Linked DNA regions of Homo sapiens: all the other regions are linked to region 3. Evidence: promoter capture Hi-C in 16 types of primary human blood cells and fetal thymus (Javierre and others, 2016). All regions are on one chromosome and are shown on one strand. The core of a region is centred on a gene start or on the middle of the fragment in contact, and the rest is flanking DNA. Distances in the headings are between cores, read along the strand shown.

Region 1 (6,153 bases), core at 491-2,990, 310 kb after region 3:
TATTACGATTTTTAGATGTAGATCTGAATCCTGAAAATGAGGACTAAGAAATCAACTAGTCTCTTCCCCATAATACCTGTGGTTTCTGTATCACAGACAGAATGATGACTTGGAGCAACCATTAGGCTGAATGCAGGATGGTAATTTTTCTGCTCTGATGACCAAAGGCTACCTAGGTTTTACAGAGAGCTTGCAGACATCTAAACTTCTGATGGTTTATTTTGTCTGAATACACATTCATGATATTGTCCTAATATTTACTATCTACTTAAATCGTTCTTTGAACTCTTCCTATAGACTGTCCTTGTTAATTTCTAATGCATTTCTCAATAAACATTATCACCTAGAGAAGAAATTTTACTGGGTCACTTTTTTTTTAGAGTATGTTTTAAAAATGACCTGTTAAAAAAATTCTAAGGCATAATCCTAACATTCCTTATTTCTCTGCCCTATACACATCACCTTTGTTCAAAAATATTGAGGTATACTTATTACTAATAAAAACTATAAGCTAGTAAACTAATTTGTCCATTTTATCATTTGGAAGTTTTATAAATATGTCAGTTACATAACTACTCTGCTTATCTCCTTCTGGCCCCCTCCCAAGAAACCCAAACAATAAGCATGTTACAGAAGCATGTCAGTTAGTCCCCTCTAAAACCCAAAATAAATTATTCTGAGTATCATGATTACCAGCATGTTAGTGTTCTGTATTAACAGAATATATACTGAGGTGCTAAATTATTTGTTCATTTTTTAATGCATGTTTCTGATTCTGAGTCAGAGCGTATTTCTCATTTTATATCTTATGCATTTGCCCTTTAAGATAAACTGTTAAGGAAATGGTTTACTTCCTTTTTTTCCAAATATATTCTACTTATTTTAATAAATACAATGATGGTAAAGCTGTCACCTTAATAAAAATCACTAAGTTTAAATTTATTTTTGTCTTTTATTAAAAAAACAAAAGATATGTTTTAGTGATTTTTAAAAAGCCATGTATAACTATTGTGTAAAATAATAAATCTATAAAGATTTCTGTTGTAGGCTGATACTGGTCTTTTGGATAATAGGCATGAGTATTTCCATATCAAGTCTTCTCAGTAACCTGAAGTATTTCAAATAAGTACTGGTATTTTACCTATAATTATCTAAATGCAAAGTATTTGATGGGGTTTAGTACACACTGCCTTCTAAAATGGCACCTTGTCATATGGAAGGTATTTTAAACTGAAGCAATTTGAGAAGCAGCAGATGCAGGAAGGACTTTGACTTTCTTCTGAAGTAGGTCATATGAACCACATGTGAGAGATGCCCTTCCTATACCCAGAGGAAAGGAGCATCCTCATCTCCAAAGTGGAGGGACACTGAGATGAATCTGAACAAACAGACCTTGGTTAGTTTCCCCCAGTTTACTACGCTTAACTCATACCCCTTTTTATTTTCTCACATTGCTCTACAACTCTCTACTCTTCATCAAACCTAGCATAAAAATACTCAGGTTTAACCATTTCTTTGGATCTTCATTTCCTTATGAAGGCTCCATGTCACAAAAAAACCTCATATTAAATAAACCTGTATGCTTTTCTCTCATTAATTGGTCTTTTATTACACAAGCCCCCCAGCAAATAGCCTAAAAGGGTAGTAGGAAAAGATATTTTTCCTTCCCTACACATTAAAACCAAGACTTTTTCATTTTGAATGCTAAAACTTCAATTTTTGTAAAAATAATAGAAATTTTCTCATTCCTCAAAGAAAATGGGAAGTAGAAAGATTTCCCTCTAGTGGAGAGAGGAAAAAATTACATAAACAATGGGCTACCGCTTTCTAAAAAGTAAGTAATTTAGTTTACAAGATTGAGGAATTTTAGTTCATAACCTTTTAACTCCTTATTTATAATTTTTCTTTATTATTAAGATTAATGATGCTTTACCAACTCTGCTATAATATTTAAAATATAAAAATATATACAAATAAATTCCGTATCTTCAATACGGCCTATAAACACAGCTTTAGTTATACCCAACCTTGAATATTATGGAATTGCAGGAATTCATGTTACACTCTGCACTCCTACAAATTTGAACATGTGGATTTATTCACGTCAATATTAATTAAGGCTGGCGTTCCTGGTCCTGGCTATTTACAACCTGTTCTGTGTTTTATGGTGAGTTGGATATTGCACATTTATCATTTTTTTTCAAGATTCCGACAGGTCAAAAATGCTTTATCTGGTCAAACATGGATCAATTACAGGAAAAATCAGGGACTGTGTAAACATTCAAATGTTATAGTACCAAAAAGAATGCCTGGTTGGTTTACTTACCAAAACTACTCAATGCTGTAGTTTTTCACGAATATGGTTTGTTACCTGTAACTAGAAATAGCCCTTCTTTCTCAAAGTCTAAAAACATTTGCTATATCTAAGCATCTTTTAATTTCACAAATGGAGACTTAATGTTTTATTTTTTAAGTTCTAAACTGTATATAGAAATAAAAGATACTCACAGGCATTCATCACTAAATCCCCATGAATTTCTGGTTTCCAGTCATCCCATGATGTCTCAAATCCATCAGCAAAACGGATACAAAAGTTTTTGAAATGCCCTTTGCTAACCAGAGACTCTGAAGAGCATGCAGTGATGAGAGTACTTTCAATGGTTAATACCAAAGCAGAACCAGTGTCAAGGTCTCCAGTATGATTAGACTGCAAAATATATTAAAGAAGAAATAAGACAAAAGGTGACAATTTTTTAAACTTAGAAATCCTCACAGGATTCATAGGAATAGAAATCTAGAAACGGTCAAGCCTAGATATGTTCATTAAAGAGCAGCTTAGAAAGATGCCTTTTAAAAATTAAATTGCTTAAGTGCAATGTACTTGCCATGTGCATTTTTTTTCTTACTTAACATACAAAGGGCTATCTACATTTCTATCTCAAGCCTCTCTTTTAGTTGTGGGGAGATGATCTCACTATGCCACCCACCTGTGGTGTTTATGGCCTTCCTAGGCAGTGCCCATTATGCTATTAAAAAACTACTATATTTCAGTTCCTGAAACACAAACATACCAATGCCACCCATCCTCAACCTGAAGTTTTTCTTAACACTGTCTTACCGAACAGAATCCTAAAAGATAAATTAATTCAACAACTGGTTACAAGTTATTAAGGTAAATTGTAACAGTAAAATATAGATCTCTATATGCTATTGTTAATAACTGTTGCTTCTTGGCCTGACAGGTGTTCATAGCCTTTTCTCTCTCTCATACACACATGTGCATGCAGTTACATATTCCTGAAAATTGGTCTTAAGTTGCAAAGAGAAAATTCCTGGTTTATGTGCACACTGCTTTGAAGTTTCATTACCATTAAATATTACAGTATAAAAGCATTTTGGAATTCCCTATTCTATTACAGGTTAAGTTCATTAAACAGTATTCTTAAATGTCCTTTTATTTCCATCTTATAAACAAGTCCATACCAATGACTTCCTTGTTAAAAAAGAAAACAATAAAATGATTCTGAAACTAAGCTTCTTTTTATGAAGGTAAAAATTAAGAGTTATCTGGGGGGTATCAATCTTATCACTATTCTGAAGCATATAAGAGTGCTTCAGAGAAAAGTCCCATGAGATTAAGATTTAATACATTGAGATGAGTAATGGTTGAAGGAATTCAATCTTACTTGCTACCTACTAAACAGTTATAAACTGTTACACTGAAAAATGTACTGTTATATTCTAAATACTTAGAAATGGTTATGTAGAAATGCCTGGCTCTTAATCCTGGAATATGACTTGACTTTTTGTACCTGTGCAGTATTTGTGATAGGTAGGCAAATTCCCAGATCATTGACAGTGAGCTGGAGAAAAAGAGTCCCAAAGGCCTGGGCTGATGTTTGCTGGATACCAGGTAGCATATCTACTACTTCCTTTGTAGCCATATGAATATCCTTATGTAAAGCCATTCGTTGTTCATTCCAGTTGTCATAGGCGGCCTTATAATTCAGCCAAAACAGCACAGCTTTTGATAATTAAGACAGGGCAGAAAGAAAATTAAAATCAACACTGTAAATCTATATGTTAAGTAAAACTCAAAAGCTGCAAAATCCTGTTGCTTAATAAAAATTACACCCAGAAAACTGTAGCATTAGAATTAGGAAAGATCTAAGAGGACATATAGTCACCATTTTTTAAATAACAAATGAAAAAATAAAACAGAAAGCAGGCAACCACATAATGGCACAAGGAAGAAGAAAATCCAGGTCTGTTCATTCCCTCTAACTTATTTGTGAAATGCCTATTATATGTTAGATACTGGGATGGAATAACAAATGAAAACAGACATGGTGCTTAACTTCATCTGTAGAGCTGTTACTTCTTTTAAAATTCTTTAAGGTACATAATGCTAGGAACATACCATTAAAAGGATCTGATTTACAGAGAAAAGTCAAAGATGTTTGAGTTTGTTAAACAGAAACAAACCTTAAGGAAAACCTTCATTTCACAGCAGTGTATAGATGGAGGGGCCTCTAAAAAGGACATAAAGATGGAGAGGCCAGAGAAGTAGGAGGAAAAGCAAATGCAGGTTGAGCATCCCTAATCCGAAATCCAAAATCCCAAAACTTTCTGAATGTTGATATGATGCTACAAGTGGAAAATTCCACATCTGAACTCATGTGAGACTGCAGCCAAAATGCTGTCAAAACTTTGTTTCATGCACAAAATTATTTAAAATATTTTATAAAATTATCTTCAGGCTATGTGTATATGGTGTATATGAAACATAAATAAATTTCATGTTTAAACTTGGGTCCCAGCCCCAAGATATCTCATTATGTATACACAAATATACCAAAATCTGAAAAAATCCAAAATCTGAAACACTTCCTGTCCCAATTACTTTGGAAAACCAGTACTCAACCTGTTTTGTGTCAAGGACACCAAGGGTACAAAATACTTTAAGAAGCTGATGAAAGCTGATGAGAGGTCAGTAAAATGAGAACTGAAAAACATGTACATGGGATTCAGCAAAATAAAATGCTATCTGTAACACTGCCAAAAGGGCAATTTTCTAACAGGATTCTGTTACTAGCCTATGTCCATCACTGATGAAGATCTTAAATGGCTTCTTAAATGGCTCCTCATTACTTCTAAAATACAGTTCAAATATATTTGCCCAATCCACATTAATTAGACCTTGTCTACCTGTTCAGCCTTCTTTCCCATTATTTTCTTCTATGAAACCTACTGCTATATTTTCTTAGACTTATGTGTTTAAACACATTCATTCTTATTCTCTCTTACTCAATGTTTATTTCGTTCTTATTGTATGCCAGGGACTGTTCTAGGCCCTGGGATATAAAAGTAAATTTCATTTCCTTATCTCCCTGGTGAACTCCTAATTCAAAGTCAAATCAAGAATTAGTTTCTCCTCTAAGAAGCATAGGCAAAGGTAGAGAATTCCTCAGAACCAAGAACACATCTCTGACTCCACTGTGTAGTCTACTTTGTTTTCTTTTCCACTGGACTGACAGGTCCTTGAGGGCAGGGATACTGTTGTTTATTTTTGTATTCCACTTCTAGGCAGTACCTGATAAATGTTTATAGAATATAAAAATAAACACAGTGCCAAAACACAAATGGGTGCATTAATTATCAAAACAAAAAAAATCAGCATTACAATTACATAATCTGAAGCAGACACTCTTATGTTATCCAGCCAGAAGACAAAATAACTTTAAAATGTAAAATAACTTTTAAAAACTGAAGGCAAAAAGCAAGATTTTTTTTTTGGATACACACATTTCAGATTTAGGAACCATTTAGCTGTCAAGCATTTACACCAGTAAACTACAAGATTCTTATCTAGCATTAACAAAGCATTCCTAGATCCCAGAGGATAGTAGTGATTGACTTTATCTTACCTCTATCAAAGGCCACAGGCTGTGCATAAACAATTGGTCTATTCAAAGTAATAAGCACAGCTTCCCTATCTGAAGAACCACTGATTTCTTCTCGGAGGGCATTTCTTAATCCAATTCTGGTTTTAAAATAGGCAACTTGATGAAAATCAGAACCAGCTTCCTCATAAACCTAAAATAAAATTTAAAGCTCAATAAAATAAAATAATGGAAAAAGTTTTAATATGAA
Region 2 (7,063 bases), core at 2,660-5,159, 330 kb before region 3:
TCCTACAGAGCAACACCTACACAGCAATCCAGACTCTTCATTACCACCTTATGCAATGAAAGAAGCAAAGCTATCTACTGATACTTCTGCTTTTTGATCCCTAGGTAATCCATTTCTACGACCAGGCCCACTAATCCCTGTGACGCTAGAAGCAGCTTCACAGAAACTAGACAGAGTGAGACCCAGTCCTAGAGCAAAATGTACCAAAAGAATGTTTGTATTTGCCTTGATAGTCTACATAACCTGCAGTCTCTCCCAACTGTGATTCCTATAACCTAGAAATTGTGGTAATGATCAAATAAAATGAAAGAAAAACGATTTTCTCCACCAACAGTAAGATATTCAAAGATTCCTAAATATCTCTTCCAAGTTTTCTTTTCCTAACTGTTTTTCCTTCTTGAGCCTCTTTCCCTACATATATCAGTCCAGATAAAAGGTCAAAAAGACTAAAGGCAGGGTCTTCAAAGCCTACTAAATTAGACAACTATGAGTCAATGATTTGGAGGTAAAAGTTATTGCATTTGTATTTCTGAACTAAAGCTCTAAAATAACTGCAATGGTTTGAATGTCCCTTCCACAACTCATGTTGAAATTTAATTGATATTTTTATTGTATTAAGAGGTAGGACCACTGGGAGGCGATTAGGCCATGAGACCGTAACAACATTAATCCTCAGGAATGGATTAATGCCATTACGGTGGGAGTGGGTGTATGGCAAATGCACCTGAGAGCAATAACTTAAGAAAGGAGGGTTGCCACGTGAAGGCTGCTGCACGGAGGGTGCCAAATAAAAGTGCTATATAAGCTGCATGCTTTTTGCAAGCAGTTGAGGTTCTCCTGTCTAGTCCACCACCACTGGACTGTCCCTGTATGTTAGTTCTCCCTAATAAAACCCTATGTCTTGTTTGCTAGCTCCAGGTCTCTTTTGCCTCTTGAACCTGGTGCCATCCTTACAGAAGTTAACACGGACTCAGTACCACAACTGGTGAACCCAGCAGGAAGGTGGAGAAAAATTTCATGAGCACCGAGACCGTAAGATCAGGAAAGGGGAAATCCAAGGGGGGGTCCCGGGCTGACCATCACATTTATGTGGTGCCCAAAAGCCACTATCCTTGATGGATGGGACCCAATGTATGAGTACAGAACACCCCAAAAACACCGAAGGGTCTGGAAGAGCTGTTGCAGGGGGTGGATCTAACTAAGCAAAAGTTAGATGCCTGAGCTGTGGCAGCCACAATGGCTGGCCATTCTTGACTGTGCTCCCAGCAGCCACTGAGGCTGAGCTCCCAGCACAGGCCAGGGGTTGTCTGTTATAGGAAGAACTATGAGTAGAAAGAGATGCCAGACTAGCTCAACCTAAAACATCAGAGACCCTACTGTCCTACCTGCAGAAACAGGATGACAAAATGGAAATCCCAGCTTGTCAGGTAGCCTGTTTGAAGGGTCGCCAGCTCCCATGCCAAGTTAGGACTATATGACTAAATCTTCCTAAGTCCAGGGACCCAGTGGAGAGCTCTAGTGAGGAGCAGAGTGAGGACTGGGATAAGCCCATAGAGGTCCTGTTCTCTCTACCAAGATAAAGTCAGACCAATGGTGCCTGCAGGGAGTAGACCCACAAAACTTGTCTCTGCCTGAAAGATGGTAGCATACCACAATGCAGCACTACACCACTATGGAACTAGTGGAGCTGGGCAGAAGGTGGGTTCAGGAAGAGAGACAGTTGATTGAGAGGTGGCTTCTCTGTCTATGGGACACGGGGATGGAGGGTGTTATACTCTCCAGACTCAAGATGAGTGGAATGGCATACATCGCATGCCACCCAGCCCTGAGGCAGCACCTCTATGGTGCCAACAATGAGGATCAGGCCATGCCCCTCCTTAGCTGGGTGGTTGTGGGCTGCAATGAAGCGTGGCCAGATGAGGGCAGTATCCCCATATCTCCTTTGTGATGGCAGACTATGGAGGAATTGCAGGACATCATCTGGAAATTAGGGATGAAACATGCTATCTATGCTGAACATCACCAAGGTCCAACAAAGAGCTTTTCACTGCCAACATGAAAGACACCATCTTAGTCTGCACTCAACCAATGGTATGGTGTGCTAGTGTCTACCCAGAGCCCCCTAGTAGGACAGCCAGTGTCTCAGGTGGCCCAAGCAGCCACCAACTTATGAGAAATGGAGAAACTGCATAGGCAAAGGGTACGTGCTGCTGGGATGAAAGACAAGGGCGCCAAAGGAAAGGAGATGGCCAAGGGGCCCATCAGGGTGACTGACCAACAAATGTGGCACAACCTGGTAGTGGCAGGAACAGCTACTATGAAAACAGATAAACAGCCTAATGCTGTTCTGGTCAGACTGTGGCAGAAGCTCACACCAGAAGAGTGCTTCACTAAGGAGCCTCAGGTTCAGCCCGCCACCCTTCCTGCAGAGGGATAGCAAGTGTCAACCCTGTTAGACTGGATGAAAGCCAAGGCCCCAGAACCCTGATAAGAGTAATGGTGGCCAGGGTACCTGGGGACCAGAGGCCACATGTAGAACTAACTATATATTGGTCGCCTAAGAATAAACACACTGTGCGTGCCCTAGTGGATACTAGAGCCAAATGCACTTTCATATATGGTGACATTCGTTGGTTCCAAGGGGCTAAAATGGCAAAAGATGGTTATGGATGGGGATCAGAAAGGTTGAACTGTCTGAGTATTACAAGTTGAGAGACTGCCACCAAAACCCTATTTAGTATGTATAGCTCCCATCTTGGAATACATCTTGAGAATGGATATCTTATCAGGCTTGACCCTCCAAACAACTGCTGGGGAGTTCTGACTGAGAGTGGTGAAGCATGTGACCAAGGGGAATGCGAAATGGACACCAGTCTAGTTGCCAACCCCACACAGCAAGTAGTAGCACTGAGGCAATACTGCCTGCTGGGGGGACATAATGAAACCACAGGGATTGTTAAGGAGTTAGCCCAAGGAGGCATTACAAGGCCAGTGCACAGCCCATACAACAGCCATGTACGGCCCATGTGGAAGCCTGATGGGACATGGACAATGACACTAGATTACTGGGAATTAAGTAAGGCAGTCCCCCCAATGTATGCACATGTTCCCAATATCACCTCCCTTCTAAAGAGGGCGGGAGAGGCACTGGACACATACCACTACCACTCTGTTACTGATTTAACCAATGCCTTCTTCAGCATCCCCATTGCCGCAGAGAGTCAAGACCAATTTGCATTCACCTGGGAAGAACAATAGACTTTTACCATCTTGCCCCAGGGATATTTATATAGCCATGGAGGTCCTGGAAGGGGTACACATTTTCCATTACAGTGATGATATCGTGCTAACTTCTGAGTCTTTTTCCAGCTTTCAAACTGCGCCCTCACACCTTGCTGCCTCATCTGGCAAACAGGATGAGCTATAAACACAGACAAAAATCCAGAGTCCAGGCTTATCAGCCAAATACTTGAGTCTGCCATTATGGATAGGGTGCAGGCCTACTCACATCGTGTGACACCAAAGCAGCTATAAATCTTCTTAGGACTCCTAGGGTATGGGCATCATTTTATTCCTCATTTGGCCCAACTCCTTAGACCCCTATACTGTTTAGTCAAGAAGGGGGCCCACTGAGACTAATCCACGAAGAAGGATGAGGCCTTTGAACCAGCTGAAGTCACAGTGAAATAAATACAAGCCTTGTGAGTTCAGGTGCAGAGACAGCCTGTGAACTAGATGTAGCCAGTTACCTTGAGGGGTTTGGGTGAGGCCCGTGGCAAAGGCAGAGACATACATATGCGCCTTTAGGATTCTGGTCCCAGCTACGGAAAAAGGGTGCAGTTAGATACAGTGTGATGGAACAACAACTCTGTGCTATACATTATGCCTTACAACAAGTAGAGGACATTACAAAAGGGGTCCTGATGCTAGTATGCAGCCAGTACCCCAAAGCAGGTTGGCTAAAGGGTATCTTCCAGAAACTGAAGTCTGGGAATGCCCAGACACAGACTGTGGCCAAATGGCTTACATACCTGCAACAAAGGAGCACATTAATAGCCCCTTGAGCTCAGAGCTCCATTCAGTGCTTGGCCCTGTCATCTATGTAACAACTGTCACATAGTCTTTTAGGGAGGCTGCTGAGCCTCCACAGATGCTCTCCTTCATACAGGATAGACAGGGCCCAATGTCTGACCGCCCAATGACTGACCAGGCCTGGTACACAAACAGCTTGTCACGAGGCAATCCTTGCACTTGAGCAGGCATAGCCATCCAGCCATCCACTGACAGGATCTGGATTGATGATACAGGCCAAGGACATAGCAGCCAATGAGCTGAGCTGCAAGCTGCCAGGATGGTCCTCCTCTATAAGCCAGACCCAGCAGTCCTGTGTACTCACAGGTGGGCTGTCTGAAGTTAACAGGCATCCGGCATGACATTCCTTAAGGAAAATTGTGATTCTCCAGTACACATTTCTCCCTGATTTCCACAGCACGATATATCAATAAATATTGTCTTCATCAATACTGCCAACAATGCATCTGATTACATGTGTGTGCGTGCGTGTGTGTGTGTGTGTGTGTGTGTGTACTTTGGAAAAGTCTGATAGGATACAGTCATCCCTTAGTATCTATGGGGTATCGGTTCCAGGACCCCTAAGATACCAAAATCTAAGGACAGCTCAAGCCTCTTATATAAAATGGCACAGTATTTGCATGTAGCCTATGTACATCCTCCCATATAATTTAAATAATCTCTAGATTACTTTTACCTAATCCAATGTAAAGGGACTCACCATGTGGCTACTACAATGGGAAGCACAGGACTAGACAGTAGCAGGTCACCTCCTTTGGTGCCCTGACATGTAGAAGGACATTCCCCATTGCATCTGGGGGATGCATAAAATGATCTACCATGTGGATCCCCACACTGCATCTACACCAACCTGGAAATCAACAGGCAGACAAATTAACCTGCATTCGTCTCCTCAAGGGAGTCCCCACAGACGATGTGGTCAACTGGTTACAAAAGAAGACAGGACATAGGGGACAACTTACCCTTTGGGCCATAGCAAAGAATTGGAGCCTGCCACTATGATACAAAGACACAGTACACATCTGTCAGCAATGTCTTACCCGTGCACAGGAACACCCCAGGCCCTTGCCACCTGATACCAGAAAGATCACCCAGGGCCAGAGCCCAGCACAATGGTGGCAGGTAGACTACATAGGATCTTTGCCCCTATTGGATGGCTGCCACTATGCCTTAACTTGTGCAGAAACCTGCACAGGGCTACAACGAGCATAACCCAGCAAGCATGCCACCATAAAAGGACCAGAACAGATGTGTGCAGCCTACAGCGTCTCCATCAATAGTGACAATGGGCCAGACACAGTGGCTCACGCCTGTAATCCCACCACTTTGGGAGGCTGAGGCGGGTGGATCACCTGAGGTCAGGAGTTTGAGACCAGCCTGCCCAACATAGTGAAACCTGTCTCTACTAAAAATACAAAAAATTAGCCAGGTGTGGTGGTACACACCTGTAATCCCAGCTACTCAGGAGGCTGAGGCAGGAGAATTGCTTGAACTCAGGAGGCGGAGGTTGCAGTGAGCCGAGATCGCGCCATTGCGCTCCAGTCTGGGCAACAAGAGCGAAACTCCATCTCAAAAAAAAAAAAAAAATTAACAATGACTAGGGCTCGTACTTTACCAGATATAAAGTACAAGAATAGGCAGAGGCCCTGGATATCCACTGGCATTTTCACCTGCCGTACAACCCTACAGCAGTGGGGCTGACTGAACAAATTGAATGGACTGTTGAAACAACTCCTATAGGAGTTGGCTCTGTGGACACGCTGCTTACCAGCAGCCGTGCACAAACTGAATAAATATGCACATTCTCATCACCCCATCATGTATACTCTTCTAACACAAGGATGTGATACGACCATCAGGATACAGGTAGACAGGGTAAGGGACAGCAGACCTTTGCCCCCAACCTGGGACACAAAGTAATCTGCTATGGCCCTTGCCACAGGACCAACCTACTGGGGAGCACATCATTACGTGGTTCTGGGAAATGGCAAACCAGCCCGATGGTTCAGTTTTTCTGCTCCATGGGGGAAGGGCCTAGAACAGGATATATATGTCACACCTATTTCATACCATACTCTCCACTGTAATTCTAAAATAATGAATCCTAGTCCTCCCTTGTGCAAGGGGATGAACATCCTCTCATGAAACACTATACCTCCACTGTCTTCCTCTGGCCTCCTGCAACACATTACAGAGGGGAGCCAGTCCATTTGGTATTGTAAACCAGGCATCAGGCTGCTGCCAGGGGTGGTGCTCTCTCAGAATGACACAACTCCCCATGTCTTGTTAAATGGCCAGGACTTGTCCTTTCTTGTACCCACTAAACAACTCACCTTTTGCCCATAGATGGTGTGCCGCAAACCTCTTTGCTGACTGGGTGCAGATGGTTATCTCTCTCCAGAAGAAAACAGACTGCTGGGTCTGCGGAGAGCTCCCCCTCTCCTCCGCTGTGGGCCTGCCATGCCACACCAAGGCAGTTAACATGAGTACCTGGGGCCACTTCGATACTTGGTATAGTGACCTTCACCTATTCCCCTTCAGCGACAACAGCACCTCATGCAGCAAGTTTCCCACCACCAACAACGTGAGATGGCATATTTTCCGCCTGGTAAAGGAGCAAGTTAATGTCACTCCCCACTGTAGGTAGGCTGTACACAATGATGGGCTAGAGTGGATGACAGCAGTGAGACAGAGATAGTGTGTCATGCACCCTTCTTTGTAAAATTGCATGGCCCTGGACATCTTAACTGCCCCCACAAGGGCGGAACCTATGGATTAATTAAAACCTGTTGTGTATGTATTCCTGATGACTCTCACGATCTAACCCAGGCCATGCAGGCCTTAAATACCCATATTTCCACTACAGAATCTAAGTCTTAAAACCCTATAACCACGTGTTTTAATCAACTCCTAAGCCCTTGAAAAACTTTCTATACAGTATGATTGTTATTATATTTGTTATTCTTTTTTG
Region 3 (6,258 bases), core at 434-2,933:
GGACATAAGTTTTTAAATCCAATAAGAAAGACATTAGCATGATTATATAGGAGTATACTGAATTTTAATGAACTTAGCGGTCTAATAATTGATGAAATATTTATTTATATTTTGGTTAAATTCATTGATTTACCAAAAACCAACTAAAAAATGCTATATTATATTCCTCATAAACTATGTTTATCTTCAAGAATCTCTAAGAGTACTCCTAAGTAGTATTGCTGAGACAGAATAACAAAACTAGAAACGAAATCTATACTCTGATCAGTTTCTGAACAATGCACAGCTAGTTACTCTTTAAGAGCCCTTGGGCATGAAAGCTTTTGAGCCTTCTTTGTTATCCTACCGAAGAAACATAGATACATACAGTAGGAAGCAGAATTAACCTTTTAATAACAAACTTAAAAAAGAAAGAAAGAAAGAATTAGATTACAGGGACAGCATGGAGAAATGGTGGTGTGGAAATCAAAGCTGTCCTTCAGAATATAATTCACATATACCTTGGCCTCAGTGAGTCTTGTCTTTGGCCTTCCGTGAGGTCTTTTGAAAGAACCATTTTCAACAATTCATCCCGTCTCTTAAGCCATTTAAATCCATTAGAGTTCCAGGAAGAAGAGGCCTGGCATGTAGTTCAAGAGTGCTGTCCGCTGATCTTTTTCTCCAGTAACTTCTACGATCTGATCTTCTGGTCTGGTACCCTGAGAGTATAAATGCAATTGGGGAAATGTTTTCATTGTCACAGACCTTTAATTGCATAAATTAGAATAACTAAAAGTGCTACCAGTAATTAGGACACTACAAAGGGGGAGACTTAAGAAGATACATTGCAAAGAAAACAATTATCGTAAATGACTATGTGTAAAAGTTTAGAAAGTGAATGAGTCACAACTATTGCTTTTCTCTAAAATTCACTCTCTAGCTCTGAACCCAAACACTCTCATTTACTAGGTCCTTTTCTAATAAGCAGCATCTAAAATGAAAGTAGCACATTCAGCTTATTGGAAAGACTTTTCCAATAACTGAAAATACTTCTTAATCAATGTGCCTAATTATCAAAACATACATTTCTAGCATCTCATGCACCTTGTTTAACTGTTATGGTTAGAGTTCTTTCCAGAGTTTCCTGGCTGTAGTCTATAACTTGCAAAATAAGAAATAAGAAAGAGATTCCACCTTCTAACCTGAGTTGGTCCAGTGGGTACTTCCTTTACGTGTGTTGTTAATGAAAGATATTTTTTATCTTACATCATAATGAAAGGATTTTGTCTCCGTGATACTGTATCTATCTGATAATCTGATCAAGCAATGCTGGCTATGATATAAGTGAGTAATAGTGTAACTTGGATCTTTAAGCTATACTAGTAGGCAAACTCAGGAAGAAAGAAATCGTTCAAGGTCACATTAGCATTATATCAAGCTAGCTTCAAAGTAGGGTCTGTAAGAGATTTTAAAAGATTTAAAAGTTTAATGAAAATAAAACTATCTAATGTTGCATGCATATAGTAATTATCTAAGATCTCTAATTGGCCTAGCCAGGCATCTTTCTTTTTCTCTTTTTCTTTCCGTCTAATCATATAACCAGTGGTTCTCAACCGGTGGTGATTTTTGTGCCCCAGAAAACATTTGGCATTGGCTGGAAAAATTTCTGGTTGTCACACTTGGAGGTAGAATGGGGGTGCTACTGGCATCTAGTAGGTAGAAGCCAGGTACTAAACATTCTAGAATGCACAAGACAGCCCTGACAACAAAGAATTATCTAGCCCCAAATGTCAGTGGTATCACCGTTGAGAAACCCTGATATAAACCTAGTTTGTGTGTAGGACAAAGGTAATCCTTTTTTTTTTTTTTTTTTTTTTTTTTTGAGACGGAGTCTCGATATGTTGCTAGGCTGGAGTGCAGTGGTGCGATCTCAGCTCACTGCAACCTCTGCCTCCCAGGTTCAAGCGATTCTCCTGCCTCAGCCTCCCGAGTAGCTGGGACTACAGGCGCACGCCACCACACCCAGCTAATTTTTGTATTTTTTAGTAGAGACGGGGTTTCACCATGTTGGCCAGGATGGTCTCAATCTCTTGACCCCGTGATCCACCTGCCTTGGCCTCCCAAAGTGCTGGGATGACAGGCGTGAGCCACTGCACCCAGCCAGGACAAAGGTAGTCTTGCCCAATTAGCAAGACTTCTTAGTGTGAATGGCCAGGGCTTTCTTTGCAAAAGGAAAAAAATGTAAAAATAGGCCTCAGCTGGGTGAAGTGGCTCCTGCCTGTAATCCCAATGCCTGTAATCCTTTTGGGAAGCCAAGTTTGGAGGATTGCTTGAGGTCAAGAGTTTGAGAACAACCTGGGCAAAATAGTGAGACATCCTGTTTCTACAAAAGAAAAAAAAAAAAGCCCTAAGGAGGTAAAAAATTTCAAAAATTCAATTGCAAAACAACAAAGCCAAGTGTGACTCCTGGCAAAAGCAGCACTTGACTTGTTCTTCAGCTGAAGAGGAATGGTTTGTTAATTCTTGCGTTTGACTTTACTACCGCTCCTTCTAGTCTGCAAAACAATGTAGCAGCAGAAAACTCCTCATGTTCTCATATGTTAAAGCATGAGGGAAACAAAGTCTTGCCTTTGGAGTCTGTTGTCACCAAGGCATAGCAAAGGAAAGCAATGTTCATGCTTCCAGACAGTGCTAAATATGGAGTTGGCATCCTGTAGACTCCTGAGTGATAGGGCACCTGAGGCTGCCTAAATCAAGGTTAATCTTTTCACTCTCCTTCTCAATACATCCTTAAGGCAGTTTAGTGGCGACAGCCCTCTACTTCTTTTCCTCTTTTGAGGCTGCCTTTGATGTGCATATAAAGCCAATTCCCGCAGTTATTTATCCTGGACCACATATTGCCAGACACAGCTCTGCTGCTTGCAGAACAGAAGAAAACAAAACCCCATTGTCTGTTAACAGAGGTAAACAAGGAAGGGTGGGAGAGGAAGCACAGCCCCATCAATATGGGCGTCAGTGTCCAGGTACCATTCAAAGGCTTTCAGAAAAGATTTTCAGTTGTTTTTACAACTGAAATTGTAGTTTTACAATTTCAGTGCTTTGAGTACCGGTACTGACCATTCCTGGCAATATTATCTCAAGGGAGTTCATTTGGCTGGCAGGGCCCCTCTACTTCTTTGGAACCTAATTTTCTTTCAGCATACACATGTAAATGTTAACTCAGCAAAATGAGCCTCTGTGAGAAATGCTGGTTTTTCAGATCATCACGGATGAAGCAGTCAGTATTTTCAGTTTCAGCTGGAAAATTTACCTCTTTAAATATGAATATTATTTTTTCCAGTAAGTTAAGCCGGTTGTGGTCAAAAAGAAGAGAAAAGAAAAAACTTCAACAAACATGAACGTGTGGTTTTCAAGGAAAAAAAAGTGCTATATTGAACATTTATAAATAGTTTCTATTAAATAAGCATTTTGGCAAACATATGGAAAGGACACCACCTTGCCCTTATGAGAGGCAATCTGCCTTGATATAAGGAAACCAGATAAGCTGCTTCTCGGCTTGTGGCTATATATGCAAAGCAAACCTGATAGGTTTGTGTCTTAGAGATGCATATTATTAATCTACATTCATATTGGGTAAGCATATGGGTTGGAAAATGCAAAGCAGGCCAGATGCTGTGTTCAGCTGATTGTCCATAAGAAGATTCAGGTAATATTGTTACGTATAGGCCTGCCTTTGTAGGGACTGGGAGGGATTGAGGCTTCTGGTTATAAGGTAGTAGCTTCCATATGCATAGTGAAATGAAAATATAGCAACTTCAGGGGGAAAATAGCATCACATACACACGTTTGCTGAAAGAAAAAAGTAAGTTGGATACAAGTCACCTGGATATAAGCTTTTGGATCAGCATTAAAATTTTTCAACAAGTCAGTATATGTTTGGTTTTTCCAGTAAATTCCATTTCCTTTCCAGTTTGATGGCTAAGCTTTTGGCTTGTTAGTCATTAGCTATTTTTCCAAACCAAGAGATAAGTGTTTGATGCTTATTTTATCCGCTCCTCCATTCTCTGAGACCCTATTCTTACCTTCTAAGAAATGACTTTCCGTCTCATTGGTTGGACAAGCCTCAAACTGTTCCTCAACTGCTTGATTCAGGCAGAATCCTAACCCTAACTGAGCTGGGAGTATGAAAAGGGTTTTAGAAAAGTCATGTGTGATCTATGGCAAGTATATTGAATCTTAGATGTAAAATATGCTATCAGAGGGAGGTACCCACTTCCTTTCTCCAAAGGAGGGGCTTTAATTCATTTTCTTCATCTGTTAACTTTACAAATATATGTTGATCATTAACTGGCAAGACACTATGCCTGGCGCTGTACAGAATAAAATGCTGCTCAAGACATGTCATGATAGATACATTAACAGAAACCACAAACAAATGAAAAATGTTCTTCATCAGACTATAACATAATTTACCCAAAGCTGCCACTAGTCACAGTGTAAGTTTTAGAGCCTCATAACTCAGCAAATGTGTCCTAAACCGAACTAACTCTCCTTTATAAAACACAAAGGTCTTGTCCACCACCCAGACATCAAAATGGTCCTCTGTGTAGCATCAGGAATAAAGCATTGTGAAGAAGTGAGGCTCCTTTCTCTCTTATCTGCGAAGCAGGGGATTGTCCCTTTTTCCCATCCCAAAGATTAAGTAGGAGGTGAAATCATACCTCACTCATCTGTTGAAACGATGTAATGCACGACATTGCAGAAGAGATAGAAATAGAGGATTGGGAAAGCTATCTTTTACTTTCTGAATAATGTTTGTTAACATATATACAAATTGTTTATCTTTCAGACAAACTGTGAGTGGTCAGCTTTTTCCTGCTTTCAGAAGGCCCAACTAAAGTCAGCAAATACAGGAAACAATGAAAGGATAATCAATGTATCAATTAAAAAGCTGAAGAGGAAACCACCTTCCACAAATGCAGGGAGAAGACAGAAACACAGACTAGTAAGATTGTCATTTGTCATCTCTCTTATTTGTACTTATAAACTATATATCTTGCATTACATAAACATACACACACACCTGTAGCCAGGGCTGCTGGTGTCTTCCTTACCTATAGTTATGCCTTATTATACATGGTGCTTTTTTTTTTTTTTTTAAGACAGAGTCTCACTCTGTCACCCAGGCTGGAGTGCAGTGGCGTGATCTCTGCTCACCGCAAGATCCACCTCCCGGTTTCACGCCATTCTCCTCCTACCTCAGCCTCCTGAGTACCTGGGACTACAGGTGCCCGCCACCATGCCCGGCTAATTTTGTTTTTGTATTTTTAGTAAAGACAGGGTTTCACCATGTTAGCCAGGATGGTCTCGATCTCCTGACCCCGTGATCCGCCCGCCTTGGCCTCCCAAAGTGTGGGGATTACAGGCATGAGCCACCGCACCCGGCCTATACGTGGTGCATTTTAAGAAGTAGGGTCACTCTTTTAAGCCCACAGACTTGAAAGTATTCAAAAACCCAATTATAATTTCCTAGTAGTCCTTGGCAGCTGGAATATGTTAATATAGCTTCTCAAGGTGAGGAAGTCATTAGGCAGAGAATCCAACTGTGATTTTGGAGTTAAGAACTATTTCCTCTCATATGGTCACAGATAACTTGTATTCTTATTAACAGGAGCTAGATCCTAGCTTTCTAACAAGAAAAGAGCCTACAAGAAGACTAGGGCAAATCTTAAACTTTGCCTCCTCTCTTAAATCATATTACTATCCTGTACATCAGCAGAGTCAGTATTGAATTGAAATAGGGAGGCCTCATTACTTGGCTGGGGAATTTTAACAGTCCCAAGCTTTTAGGAGCCCTGAGATCCTCTTGTATATGCCAACTCATGAGCAATGCAGATACCCAAGAACATGAGTAATTCAAAGATTAAAGCCAGTGGGAAAATACATAAAATAAATTACTCTCAAAAAAAATTTTTTTTTTTGAGACAGAGTCTCAGTCTGTCGCCCATGCTGGAGTGCAGTGGCAAGGTCTTGGCTCACTGCAGCTTCCACCTCCCAGTTCAAGCAATTCTCCTGCCTCAGCCTCCCAAGTAGCTGGAACTACAGGCGCACACCATCACGCCTGGCTAATTTTTGTATTTTTAGTAGTGCCGGGGTTTCACCATGTTGGTCAGGCTGGTCTCGAACTCCTGACCTCGGGTGATCTGCCCGCCTCGGCCTCCCAAAGTGCTGGGATTACAGGTGTTAGCCATCGCACCCAGCCTCAAATTTTTTAAATTA
Region 4 (6,973 bases), core at 3,108-5,607, 310 kb before region 3:
ATTCTCTCACAGAAGGAAATCTCAACTGCCATGAACACAACAACAACAAAAGCATACTAAACAATAAGGTGTACCACTAGTTTTCAAATTTTCAGTACAGTACTAGGACTACAAACTGCTTACTTCATCTACTATCATTGGGGGAAAAAAATAAACTTCAAAAATGGTGGGTTTTCTGATTCAAGAGCAGTAGTTATGATATTAAACACCAAGACAGCCAGCATTTTGGGAGGCTGAGGCAGGAGAATGGCTTGAGCCCAGGAGTTCAAGACCAGCCTGGCCAACATAGCAAGACCCTGTTGCTAGAAAAAAAAATACAAAAATTAGCTGGGCATGGTGGTGCTCACCTATAGTTCCAGCTACTTGGGAGGCTACAGGGGGAGGATCACTTGAGCTCAGGGAATTTAGATTTCAATGTTACACTGTAATGAGTATTAGGATATTGGTCTATAACTTGGTCAAACATAACGTCACTCATAATATGGCTATGTCTCTACCACTGTTTTGATTTTGCTTGTTTGTTTGTTTTTGAGACGGGGTGTGTGTTGCCCAGGCTAGAGTGCAGCAGTGAAATCATGGCTCACTACAGCCTTGATCTCCCAGCTCAGTGATCCTCCTGCCTCAGCTTCCTTAGTAGGTGGGACTACAGGCATGTGCTACCATGCCCAACTAATTATTTTTATTTTTATTTTTTCGAGTCAAAGTCTCGCTCTTGTCCCCCATGCTGGAGTGCAATGGCACGATCTCAACTGACTGCAACCTCCACCTCCTGGGTTCAAGAGATTCTCTTGCCTCAGCCTCCCGAGTAGCTGGGATTACAAGCACTTGCCACCACACCTGGCTAATTTTTGTATTTTTAGTAGAGACGGGGTTTCACTATGTTAGCCAGGCTGGTCTCAAACTCCTGACCTCAGGTGATCTGCCTGCCTCGGTCTCCCAAAGTGCTGGGATTACAGGCGTGAGCCACCGCACCCAGCCAATTATTTTTATTTTTAAACAGACAGGGTCCCACTATGTTGCCCAGGCTGGTCTCAAACTCCTGGGGTCAAGCAATCCTCCTGCCTTGGCCTCCCAAAGTGATGGTATTACAGGCATGAGCCACCACACCCAGCCAGAGTCATTATTTAATGGGCAAAAGATTTGTCCCTTTGAAGCAAAGTATAACATAACAAAGTTCTAGTATAAAGAGCTACATACAATAATACAGTCTACTAGAAAAGCTAAGCATATTAGAAACACCTAAGCACCTAAAGAAAGTCATGGATTTCTATGCTCAAACAAGGTCACATGACTTATCAAACACTATGTCTTAATTCTTCTACTTTATGTAATTTAATAATATTTATCAAACTTTTAAAGATTAGATAGAAATAGAATTTCATTAGATCTATAATCTACTTCTACCACTATCACTATAATTTTTGTACTACTGTTTATGCTTTGTATAAGGTGCTAGTATCTCACTTTGACTAATACAGCCTTGATTATTAATTCCAAAACATTTAAAAATAAAGAGTACCGTAGAGTGGCTTCAGCAAATATCTGACGTAACTTTGCTTCAGTCTCACCATAGAATCTGTAACAAATAAAATACATTTAAAGACCATTTCTTATTGTTTTTAAAGCTTTGTCTATAAAAGCTAACCTAAATTTTCAATATTTCTATAATACTTAAAATTACTTTCAAAAAGAATTTTCCAAACAATTTTTATTAAGAAGCAAAATATTTCAGTGTACAAAATATCACACAGAATACTACACAATCATTTTTAAAAACCACATTTTAGAAATATATTTAATAGTAAGTTTACTCTATTAAATCATGTACTTACTTGCTTATAATTTCAGGACCATTAATTACAGAAACATAGGCTCCAACTTCATTAGCAACAGCCCTGGCGATCATTGTTTTTCCAGTACCTGGAGGACCATAAAGTAACACTCCTCTAGGGGCAGGAATTCCTGGAAGAAAAAGTAGAAAACACTAGATTCACCATTACTAGGTTTCTTATAAATGTTGTCATACAAGTTCAAACATGAGTTATAAAATTTAACTTTACCTTGCGTCACAAAAAGAGTCAAGAGTTTTTTCTCCCCCTCCAGAAAGATGTACTAACTAGCCCAAACACTGATACCCAGCAATGACTTTCTCTCTCTGTAGACCACAGAACAGAGGAAGCATGTTGGTTAAAAAAAAAAAAAACTGGACACCCACATTGTTGCAACGCCCCATCCCACACAACACAGATCAATGATCGAAAAACCAAGCACAGACAACACAGGTAGACAAGCCACCAATCCCAGTTTTTTTCCAACTAACCATCTTGAAGAGTACATACGTTTGCTAGTATAAAAGGTACATAAGTATGAGCAAAATGCCAATCTAAGGGTTCATTTTACACATACATATATATACATACATGTATGTATATATAAGATTTATGAGAAAGGAAAAAAGCAGAGAGATCAGACACAGCAAATATATGCAAAGGATCTTGGCAATAACAATGCAGCAGAAGCCCTGAGTTTCCTGAGTCAAGCCATTCCCGTAATTACCTGCTTCAGTGCAAAGAGATGGGTACACAGTTACATTTCCTAAGAAGTTTTACCTAATGTATTTGAATGGTTTATCCCTTCAGTCATTACAGATGACCCAGCATGACAAGATACTTATTCTAGATCCAATACAGGTAATTGTGGAAATATGCTATTAGAAGAGACAAGGCTGTCACTAATTCACATTACAACCTAAAAATACCAAAGCATAGCAAATGGCCCATTTAACTGGCATCTCCCAAAGCAACTGAAATCTTCTACCATACCTACTACTCAGAAAATAAAAACAGGAAAAGAGGATGAGCAATCATTACATAAGTGTCAACTGTCTTTTAATTTGAATTTAACATTTTTGGGTGCAATAAACTGAAGACATCATACCATAACTCTTGAAAAGCTCAGGCTGTTTGAGGGGCAATTCAATTATTTCTCTAATTGCTTTCAGCTGGCTACTTAATCCTCCTATCATGTCATAAGTTACTTTGAATTGGTTGTCTTGCTCTTTTGAATTTTTATCAATCTCTGTAAAATTGACTCTTGTTGTTGAAGAAATAAAATAAAAAGTATCAGTATTGCACTTTGCTCCTATGCTGAACTTTAGCAGTCTCTCTTCTTCAGTAAGTTGCTCATTTCCTTCTCTGGCAGATTCAAAATTACATTTAAGACCTGTGACTTCCTCTAGCATAAGTCCACTGCCATCTCCAGGGCTCTGTGTAACATCCAGCAAAACATCACTGGCTTTATTTGTAATTCTGTCATCAATTGGTTTATAAGGAGTACTTCTTGATGTTGGGATCTGGGTATCCTCCAGATCTAACTGGCTTAGCTGTAAGGATAACTCCAGGCTACTGGTTTCCATGCTGGACTGTTCAAAGGCCATTCTTTGGGCATCAGTGTCAGAGTCACTCTGAGGCCCTCCCAATATCATGCCATCTGCCCCTTTCACTCGCAATACTTGCAGCTTGTACGGTCGTCCATAGAATGTACAATACAGAAAGTTGCCTGGTAAAACAATCTTGCCATCTAGAAAACAGTATATTAAATATACATGTTAGCATAATTTTTTTTACCAGTTTAATGTTTAAATAGCAATATATTTCATCTATTATCTGAAAAGACTAAATCAAAGACAGAGTATTAATAAAATAATTGTCATAAAAAATTGAGGACCTAATATTCCCCTATAACACCATCTGGAGACAGAAGGAAATGATTCTCTGAAATCCTCCACACTCAGTAGATCTCAGATTCTATCAATCACATCAACAAATAGCCAGGCATTCCATATTCAATAATAAACTAAATGAAAATGGCACACCCAAACCAACACTCCAAGATAGCATCTGTCACTGGAAAGGGCAAGAATGCAAAGGTTAAAAGTCTCAATTCTACCACTGACTCTTTCCACAGACAAGTCATATATTCTTTCCACTGCTCAACTGCCAATTAACCAGGAAAAGTAGCACATCCCTATCTTAAAAGTATATTCATTCATTGAGGGGAATATTCTCAAAGCTATTTTGAAGAAAACTACTATGCATATATAAGCCCTCAAAGACACTTTATTTGCTGATGCCTTGCAGCTTAAAACTTAAGAAAACAATTTAAAATATTTGTCTCACCTAGTTTTCTCAGGATACAACCAGTCAGTTCTTCTTCATTAATTTCCATATCTTTGTCACTGTAAAAGGATAAGAAGGGAACAGAAATCAGCATTAGGTACACCAGAAACTAAACTGTGATGTAAAATTACATGTATATGGTTATAATATAGACTTAATCAAAAGAATAATCCACCTGCAACCTTAAAATAAATAATGTATACAATTTTGAAATGATGGGCATTTTTCAGAAACATATAGCCATGAAAATATCATTTGGAATCTGGTGCCTTAGTGGCCTAAATCAATGTTCTTCAAAACACAAGGGTAATGAAATCATTTCAGTCAGCCTCATTCAGCACTTTGTTAATAGAATAAGAAATGCAGGGTACACTGAATATAGAAAGGGTAAATACTGCTTTGTAAAACATTAACTTCTAACACATACATACACACATGCACACATATGAGCACTATTATCTATGGATGTGTATATACAAAGAATCTGATGAAAAATCCATTTTTTATTGTCATAGGCAAAAACATTTTTAAAATGCTGACCTAAACTAATAATTCCCTTTATAAAGTTGCCTAGCTTGGAGAAAGACTCTAATTAATAACTTACTTCACTCTCTCAGTATAACTTACAAATTATTTCTTCAAGAAAATTAAGTCCTATACAGTATGTTACTTGAAAAGGCAGAAGTAGGAAAAAGAGGAGTAATGGTTACAATGAAGGTTTTTTTCTGGAGAAAGGGCATGACCAAGGAAAAATGAGATCCCCTCCTTCCTAATGATAACTGTGTCACCCCAGAGAGTTGCTTAAGTGCAGGAAGTGAACACACCTAAATATCATACATTTATAAAGAAATCTGCTCTTGAGGAGTTCTCAGAACATGAGCATTTTTCCTCCTCCTCTTGTGCATAAGCAGCCCATATCAGGAGGGGAGACAAACAGCTGTCTAGTTCTGTCAGTGACCAGTGGAGGGGGGACAGTTTAGCTCAAGGGGAAGTGTAAGTGATTGGAACTGAGCATGGTGGCTCATGCCTGTAATCCCAGCACTTTGGGAGGCTGAGGTGGGTGGACCGCTTGAGCTCAGGAGTTCAAGACCAGCCTGGGCAACATGGCAAAAATTCATCTCTACAAAAAATACAAAAGAAAACTAGCCAGACGTGGTGGCATGTGCCTGTGTGCCCATCTGGTCAAAAAATACCTTGTTCTCCAATCACTTTTTTTTTTTTTTGAGATGAGGTCTCGCTCTGTCACCCAGGCTGGAGTGCGGTGGTGTGATCTCAGCTCACTGCAACCTCCACCTCACAGGCTCAAGTGATCCTCCCACCTCAGCCTCTGGAGTAGCTGGGAACACAGGCGCTCACCACCACGCTCAGCTAATTTTTATACATATATATTTTTTGTAGAGGCGGTGTTTCACCATGTTTCCCAGGCTGGTCTCGAACTCCTAAGTTCAGGCGATCCACCCACCTCAGCCTCCCAAAGTGCTGGGATTACAGGCGTGAGCCACTGCGTCTGGCTTCCAATCACTTTTATCAGTAATAATACAATATAGTCAATCCTCAATACCTGTGGATGCTGTATTTGCAAATTTACCAACTCCCAAAAACTTATGTGTACCCCAAAATCAATACTCACAGAGCATTTGTGGTCATTAGTGACATGGAAGAGCAGCAAAAAATTTGGGTGACCCAACACCCATGTTACCATGTAGGATGAGGTGACACTCTGCCTTGTTTCAGCTTTCATTCAGAGATGACCAGAGAATGGAAGTGATAGGGGACACAGCAGTGTAGTGAAGAAGCTCCAGGCCTGGGGTCAGTTGGAGGGAGTGTGAATCCCAGCACTAGCACCTCAGGCAAGTCCCTTAACATTTCTAACACTTCTAAATCTCCTCTTCTGTTTTGTAAAATAAAGAAAATAAAATCTACCAGAAAGAATTACTTTGGAGTTTTAAGGTTATAATCTATGTAAAATGTGTGTGTATGTATATATATTATATATATACATACGCTACATATATTGTGTGTGTTGCATGTATGTATATACACACACATACGTATTTCCCTCTAGGAGAAATGGTTCAGTATTTGCTAACGGTGTTCAAGGCAACTTTAATAGAACATAACTAACCACAAATAATGAGAATCAACTATATATTCATATAAAAGAGAGAACAAGAGAGAAATACAATGAGGGGGAAATTTCATGAATCAAATATATGTATAAACTAATGAGAAAATTGCATGTATCTCCTTAAATGCTTACATTTACTTTTGTTTATGGAACTCTAAACCAAGTTATACTTAAATTGCTTTTGTTAAACTCTGAATAGAAGGTATTTACAAATACATGTAAAAACAGTAAAAATATCAAACCAATTTTGCTTTTAAAAAAATAATAGTTGCACATAAAATAATTTCCACTAGAAGGAGCTCTAACATTACTATTAATAATAAAATCTTACAGTTGCAACTGAAGGATTTAAGCAGACTAAAATGACTGATTTTCCCAACTGGAAGTTAACTTTCTTGTCTATACTCTGCTGCCACATTTAAAACATAAGATTTTTTAAAACATAAGATTTTTTAAAACAAAATTTTAAAACCTGAGCTTTCATTTAAAACATATCCAGTCCTCTCTAATAAGCAATCATTACTCACCTAAGACTGCTGTGCGCTCAAGAGGTCTGACTAGTTTGTAGGTCATCATAAATGCTAATTCCAGTCAACGAATTACTGCTACCTGTAGCACCATTTTAAGACATAGTCTGAGGAATAATCCAGTTTAATCTCAACAGTAC

The links. The method cuts DNA at HindIII sites, captures the fragments that hold promoters and counts their contacts. A CHiCAGO score of 5 or more calls a contact.
Region 1: a contact is called between a fragment that was not itself captured here and the fragment with the promoter of IL21-AS1 in region 3, in 1 of 17 cell types (activated CD4 T cells). The highest score is 5.3, in activated CD4 T cells.
Region 2: a contact is called between a fragment that was not itself captured here and the fragment with the promoter of IL21-AS1 in region 3, in 1 of 17 cell types (megakaryocytes). The highest score is 5.5, in megakaryocytes.
Region 4: a fragment that was not itself captured here is called in contact with the fragment with the promoter of IL21-AS1 in region 3 in 1 of 17 cell types (megakaryocytes); the score reaches 5.9 in megakaryocytes.

Annotation. Positions count from the first base shown.
Region 1 is chr4:122,305,820-122,311,972 of GRCh38, reverse strand. BLTP1 (bridge-like lipid transfer protein family member 1) reads right to left here. Exons shown (of 88, transcript NM_001384125.1): 57 at 5,928-6,096; 58 at 3,813-4,024; 59 at 2,509-2,707. Among named protein-coding and RNA genes, the nearest start is that of ADAD1, 70 kb to the left of the region's middle. RefSeq lists an enhancer at 5,662-6,153. The HindIII fragment of the contact is 3,592 bases long and covers 1-3,536 here.
Region 2 is chr4:122,948,957-122,956,019 of GRCh38, reverse strand. All of the region lies in intron 9 of AFG2A (AAA ATPase AFG2A), which reads right to left. Among named protein-coding and RNA genes, the nearest start is that of AFG2A, 29 kb to the right of the region's middle. The HindIII fragment of the contact is 8,286 bases long and covers 1-7,063 here.
Region 3 is chr4:122,614,408-122,620,665 of GRCh38, reverse strand. IL21-AS1 (IL21 antisense RNA 1) reads right to left here and starts at 1,683. Exons shown (of 11, transcript NR_104126.1): 1 at 1,174-1,683; 2 at 501-698. IL21 (interleukin 21) reads left to right here. Exons shown (of 5, transcript NM_021803.4): 3 at 4,829-4,984. RefSeq lists an enhancer at 1-513. The HindIII fragment of the contact is 3,552 bases long and covers 323-3,874 here.
Region 4 is chr4:122,930,703-122,937,675 of GRCh38, reverse strand. AFG2A (AAA ATPase AFG2A) reads right to left here. Exons shown (of 16, transcript NM_145207.3): 4 at 4,179-4,237; 5 at 2,938-3,579; 6 at 1,833-1,962; 7 at 1,520-1,576. Among named protein-coding and RNA genes, the nearest start is that of AFG2A, 11 kb to the right of the region's middle. The HindIII fragment of the contact is 5,459 bases long and covers 1,628-6,973 here.